Regions from separate parts of the Homo sapiens genome. Here region 1 is linked to region 2. The links are contacts of gene promoters, found by promoter capture Hi-C in blood cells and fetal thymus (Javierre and others, 2016). All regions are on one chromosome and are shown on one strand. The core of a region is centred on a gene start or on the middle of the fragment in contact, and the rest is flanking DNA. Distances in the headings are between cores, read along the strand shown. Region 1 overlaps MAST2 (microtubule associated serine/threonine kinase 2). Region 2 holds the start of IPP (intracisternal A particle-promoted polypeptide).

The links. The method cuts DNA at HindIII sites, captures the fragments that hold promoters and counts their contacts. A CHiCAGO score of 5 or more calls a contact.
Region 1: a fragment that was not itself captured here is called in contact with the fragment with the promoter of IPP in region 2 in 1 of 17 cell types (M1 macrophages); the score reaches 5.1 in M1 macrophages.

The regions. Positions count from the first base shown.
Region 1 is chr1:45,873,875-45,876,840 of GRCh38, forward strand. All of the region lies in intron 3 of MAST2 (microtubule associated serine/threonine kinase 2), which reads left to right. It overlaps LOC105378694 (a long non-coding RNA gene), which reads right to left. Exons shown (of 5, transcript XR_001738038.2): 3 at 2,819-2,965; 4 at 765-879. Among named protein-coding and RNA genes, the nearest start is that of MAST2, 72 kb to the left of the region's middle. The HindIII fragment of the contact is 1,636 bases long and covers 636-2,271 here.
Region 2 is chr1:45,748,771-45,752,015 of GRCh38, forward strand. It overlaps IPP (intracisternal A particle-promoted polypeptide), which reads right to left and starts at 1,883. Exons shown (of 9, transcript NM_005897.3): 1 at 1,827-1,883. It overlaps LOC105378693 (a long non-coding RNA gene), which reads left to right and starts at 2,179. Exons shown (of 3, transcript XR_947290.2): 1 at 2,179-2,478. RefSeq lists a silencer at 1,724-1,993. The HindIII fragment of the contact is 27,355 bases long and covers 1-3,245 here.

The DNA of each region.
Region 1 (2,966 bases), core at 204-2,703, 120 kb after region 2:
CAGTGGTGTGATCTTGGCTTACTGCAGCCTCTGCCTCCCAAGCTCAAGTGATCTTCCCACCTCAGCCCCCTGAGTAGCTGGGACTGCTGGCACATGCCAATATGCCCAGCTATTTTTTGTAGTTTTTGTAGAGATGGGGTTTCACCATGTTGCCCAGTCTGGTCTCGAACTCCTGAGCTCAAGCAATCCTCTCGCCTCGGCATCCCAAAGTGCTGGGATTACAGGTGTGAGCCACTGTGACTGGTCTAAAGTATTTTCATGTACGTTACTTTATTTGACTTTTACAACTGCTGTATCTAAGCCTTTGAGGTAGATGGAATCCCAGGTCACACAGTTACATGTTTTTGAGCCACGACAGAAGCCTAGTTTTCCAAACTTTAAATTTTGTGTTCTTGACCAGGCATGGTGGCTCACGCCTATAATCCCAGCGCTTTGGGAGGCGGAGGCAAGTGGATCACGAGGTCAGGAGATAATGTTCCTTTTAAGACTAGATAGTAAATGATATTAACATAGATTTTCTTCCTCGGTAATATTTTTCTCTTCTTAAAGCATTCCGACTCTCCATGGAGTAACTACCAGCCAGGAGACTGTCAGTAAATAATATGTGATAATAGAGCATATTCTTCCCCTAGTAAAGCTTCTTGCTGAAATTATTGCAATTGATAGTTTTCATCAATGCAACTCCAAACTGGTAGGCAGGACCCTATTGTCTTATAATTGCCTTATAATGATGATAACAATAATAGTATGAACCATTTACTTACTTGATGGATTCATAGATTTATTCATCCAGTATTCATTTGTTGCCTACTAGGCTAGGTATTCTGCTGGGTGCCAGGAATGTCCTTGAGAGCAAGACTAATTCCTACTCTCCTGGAGCTAACAGTCAAAGAAAACAGATAATTTAGCAAATAATTATAGTAACCAGTGAAGTAGGTATGATTGAGGAATTAAAGGAATATTTGGATAATATATGGAAGGAGGCTGGGGAAACTGTAGAAAAACTTGCCAGAGGAAACGAAGTTTAAGCTGAAGTCCAGGAATGTATAAAAAGAGATAAAGAAAAGTAATCCAGACCAGGAGAACAGTAAGTGTGAAGACCTGAAGGTGAAAGAAAGCATGGCAAGTCTGAGTCCAAAACTCCAATAAGACTGGAGAATTATGCAAATGATACTGAGGAGGGAGGCAGTCAGAGCCAAGTAGTGCCCTGTAGACTACAGAAAGGATTTTAGACTTTATCCATTGCAGAATTATAAGAGAGAAAGGACACATTTAAAAAAGTTATTTTTGGCCGGGCACGGTGGCTCACGCCTGTAATCCCAGCACTTTGGGCGACCGAGGTAGGTGGATCACCTGGGGTCAGGAGTTCGAGACCAGCCTTACCAACATGGGGAAACCCTGTCTCTACTAAAAATACAAAAATTAGCCGGACGTGGTGGCGCATGCCTGTAATCCCAGCTACTTGGGAGGCTGAGGCAGGAGAATCGCTTGAACCTGGGAGACGGAGGTTGCAGTGAGCCAAGATCGCGCCACTGCACTCCAGCCTGGGTGACAGAACGAGACTTCATCTCAAAAAAATAAAAAGTTATTTTTGACTTCAGTATTTATTTCATTATACCCACAGTTATCACTCAGAAAACAGGTACTATATATGATATTTACATTGATATAACATTAATCAAGGGGGACAAAACTGAATGAAAGGGAGACCAATTAGGAGGATGTTATAGGATGATGGTGGCTTGTGCCCGGGGAAGTAGAAGTGAATTGACAGATTAAAGATAGATATTTTGGAAGTAGAATTGGCCGAGCTTGATGAATAATGGATGTAGAGAGTGAGAGAAAGTGAAAAATGAAGAATGACCCTGGGTTTGGTGGTACCATCATCAAAATAGAGAACAGAGAAGGAGCGAGACTGAGTAGAAAGATCAGCTGAGTTTTAGACATATTAAGGACAAGGTAGTTGTATGTACAACTATAGAGGTCAGCAAAAAGATCTGGGATAGAGATACAAATTTGAGATTGTAAAATATATAGAGAAAGGAGAGTGTACAAGCAGAACTAAAAGGACAGTCCCCATTTAAGGGTCTAAGGTGATGAAGGATGAGCCTGCAAAGATGTTTAAATGGTGTGTTTGCGGGGATAAGAGGAAAAACAAGAGAATGTGGCTTCATGGCAAGAAAAGTCTTCCAGGACAGAAGAGTGAATGATACTATCAGGTGCTGTTGAGCAGTGGAGCCAAAAAAGATAGGTGGACTAAAAATGCAGTGAAGCTTCATTACCCTGGCGTTATACATTACATTGGCAGTGTGCCAAGAATGGTTTAAATGGGCTGGTAAGGTCTAGGGATATTTATAGAGTGTTGAAGAATGAGTAGGAAGTGAGAAATTAGAGACATTGGATGTAGATAACTCATTCAAGAAGTGTGGTTGTGAAGGGAAATAAAATTGATAAGGCAGTATTTGAAGAGGGATGTGTAGTTATTAAGGGAATTTATTTCCTTATCTGAAGCTGGAATAGACTTGAATGTGTTCAGAATGCTAATCAGGAAGATCATTAAGAACATGAAGAGTCAAGAGATAATGAGTAGATCAGAGAAGGCTGAATGGAATGGGCTTCACCTGATATTGTAATGTATTACCAGGTATTACCAGCCTAGTTGCTGGAAGGTTATGAGTAAAATAATTTATGGTTATCTGTCTAAATGGGAGTACTCTTGCCTCAGCCAAGTTTCCTGATTGTGTAGCTTTTCTCCCCAACTTGCTGTGAATATTCCCTGGGAAAAGGAGGATTGAGAAATCATTGCTCCTTGGACTACCTTTATGTGGTTGGGCCCTTCTTGTTCCACTGTGCCTTAGTTGTCACAGAATGTACTGATCTGGAGTCCTGGGCATCAAATGCAGGCTTTTGTATAGGTGTAAGGAAGTCGGAAGGGATGGATTTCCACGGATGCGCTTCCGTGCCTC
Region 2 (3,245 bases), core at 633-3,132:
GGACCAGCCTGGCCAACATGGTGACCCCATCTCTACTAAAAAATACAAAAAATTACCCAGTCATGGTGGTGGGCGCCTGTAATCCCAGTGACGTGGGCGGCTGAGGCAGGAGAATCGCTTGAACCTGGGAGGCAGAGGTTGCAGTGAGTGGAGATGGAGCCACTGCATTCCAGCCTGGGCAACAGAGAGACTCCGTCTCAAAAAAAAAAAAGGAAAAAAAGGGGGTGGGGGCGGAGAAACCATGTATTTGGCCCTACACAGAAATGTGACCTGGAACTATTATCAACATGACATGACTGTCAGGCCTTTTCTGTTTTACATTTCTGTCAGCACATTTTGAACCCTAGTGGTTTAATTACAAGGTACCTCCTCTGTCCCCTACTTCAAGGCATCAAGCACAGCCACTGAGCTAAAATGCTGCCTCCTGCTACAAGAAAGAGTTGACTGAATATCCATTCGGGTGGCAGACAACAGAAATACTAGTCTGTTACCATGCTTCTCAGTAACTGCTGATACCATCCCACTGTCAGTGGAGTAGGAACGTCATCCCAAAAGGTGGCATGTGGAGTGACCATATTTCCAAAGGAAAAGAGCACAATTCTGTGACGTTGCATGCCTCACGTGCCCCAAACTTGAAAAGCAGATTGTTGACTGGGCAAGGTGGCTCACACCTATAACCCCAGCACTTTGGGATGTCCTGTCGGGAGGATCGCTTGATTTTTTGTTTTTTTTTTTTGTTTTGTTTTTGTTTTTTGTTTTTTTTTTTTTGAGACGGAGTCTCGCTCTGTCGCCCAGGCTGGAGTGCAGTGGCACGATCTCGGCTCACTGCAAGCTCCGCCTCCCGGGTTCACGCCATTCTCCTGCCTCAGCCTCCCGAGCAGCTGGGACTACAGGCGCCCGCCACCACGCCCGGCTAATTTTTTGCATTTTTAGTAGAGACGGGGTTTCACCGTGTTAGCCAGGATGGTCTCGATCTCCTGACCTCGTGATCCGCCCGCCTCGGCCTCCCAAAGTGCTGGGATTACAGGCGTGAGCCACCGCGCCCGGCCAGGGAGGATCGCTTGAGTCCTAGAGTTCAAGACCAGCCTGGGCAATACAGCGAGCCCCCCGCCGCAAAAAAAATTGTTTTAACATTAGCTGGCTGTGATGGGGCAAGCCTGTACTTCCGGCTACTTGGGAGGCTGAGGTGAGAGGATCGCTAGAGCCTGAGAAGTCGAGGCTGCAGTGAGTTGTGATCGCACCACTGCATTCCAGCCTAGGAGAAGGGGCGAGACTGTCTCAAAAAAAAAAGCAGATTATTAGGAAACGGTAGAAATGCCCAGAGGAACTAAAGCGGACCTATGTTTGCTGGCTTTGAATTCACTGCTGGGAACATGTGGAAACTGCTTCAGCAAAGGGGTGTCAGAAAGAATCCCCGGAACAAGTGTCAAAACACCCGTGGTTCTTTGTGCTTGAGTTGGGGGCCCGGCCTAGAGAGCTAGCCCTAAACTGCTGCTACACTAAAAGCTAATAATCGTTCCTGCGCTACCTAAAGGTCAGGGAAGGGATCTCAGACAAACGAGGCGACAACAGAGGGACTGGGGACACAGCCTCAGGATTCCCCAGTTGGGGCGGGGGAGGCAGGAGCGGTCCGGACGAGAAGGTCTGGGGAGGGCGACACTTAGACTGTCGGAGGAAGGCCTGCGGCGGCAGAAGGAAAGACAAGGAAATACACAGTTCTAGAGGCTTCTCTCACTCCAGTCCTCAGGGGTCCGGAAAGCCGGAGGGAGTAGAAGAGGAAGTTCCCAACCCCGTCACAGACGCGCCCGAACGCAGGCCCTCCTTACCCGCCGCTTCCCCTTCCCTCCGGCGCCCGCTCAGGCCCTGCGCGCGCAGTCGCGACCAGCCCCGGCCGGAGAGGGCGGGGGAAACCTGGCGGGGGTGACGAGGCGGGAGTGACTGGGCCGTACAGTTCCCCGAGAACTGGAGGCGAAGCCGGGCGGTGGGAAGGGACTTCGGACGCTTCGCGGGCCCTGGGTTTTCACTGCGCGTGCGCGAGGTTCTTCCGCTCGCGGGAGACTGGGCCGCTGGCGCCTCTCAGTGCCCACTGATGGGGCCCAGGGCTTGGGCTTGCTTCCCCAAGGATCAACAGCTTAGCTGCAAGCCTCTGCTTCTGCCTGCTGGGGCCGGCTGGCTCGCCCTTTCCATTCCGCTTGCACTCTGATTCTTGTGGTGTCCCAAGAAGGCCGCGGATCTCAGTTAAGCAGAGACGAGCCGAACACCTGGCACGGTCCTTCTCTACTGTTCTCTCGAATCGTTTTCTGAGTGCATGACTGAGCCTGGCACTGAAGGGATACTTATTTTGGGGAAGGAAGAACTCAAAAGTCCAGTTTTTTTCACTGTTGACCCTCATGTGTCACATTAGTGGCTTTCAAACTGTTTTGATCCCAGCCTACGGTGAACAAAAATATTTTACATCAAACTCAATACCACATACTTGTGAGTATATATATAGAAGTATATATCTAACATAAAATCTCATTTCTTTATTTTTATTTTTATTTTTTATTTTTTGAGACGGAATTTCGCTCTTGTTGCCCAGGCTAGAATGAATGCAATGGCCGGATCTCGGCTCACCGCAACCTCCGCCTCCTGGGTTCAAGCGATTCTCCTGCCTCAGCCTCTCAAGTAGCTGGGATTGCAGGCATGCGCCACCATGCCCGGCTAATTTTGTATTTTTAGTACAGACTGAGTTTCTCCATGTTGGTCAGGCTGGTCTCAAACTCCCCACCTCAGGTGATCCGCCCGACTCGGCCTCCCAAAGTGTATTTCTTTCTCTTTTTATGAGACAGGGCCTGGCTTTGTCGCCCAGGCTGGAGTGCAGTGGTGCCATCTCGGCTCACTGCAGCCTCGACTTCCTGGGCTCTGGTAGTCCTCCCACCTCAGCCTCCTGAGTAGCTGGGACTACAGGCCTGTGCCACCACCGCCAGGCTAATTTTTTGTATTTTTAGTAGAGACAAGATTTCGCCATGTTGACCAGGCTGGTCTCCAACTCCTGGGCTCGAGTGATCCGCCCGCCTCGGCCTCCCAAAGTGCTGGGAGGTGTGAGCCACTGTGCCTGGCCTGAAACAAAATCTTCACAAAACTATGTTTACACTTACGACCCGCAGTGCACTAAATTTTTATTTCTTCTTTTCTACTTCATTACCAAAAACTGCTAACAGGGACCTATTGTCAGCAAACATTGTCAAAGACTTGGAAATGAG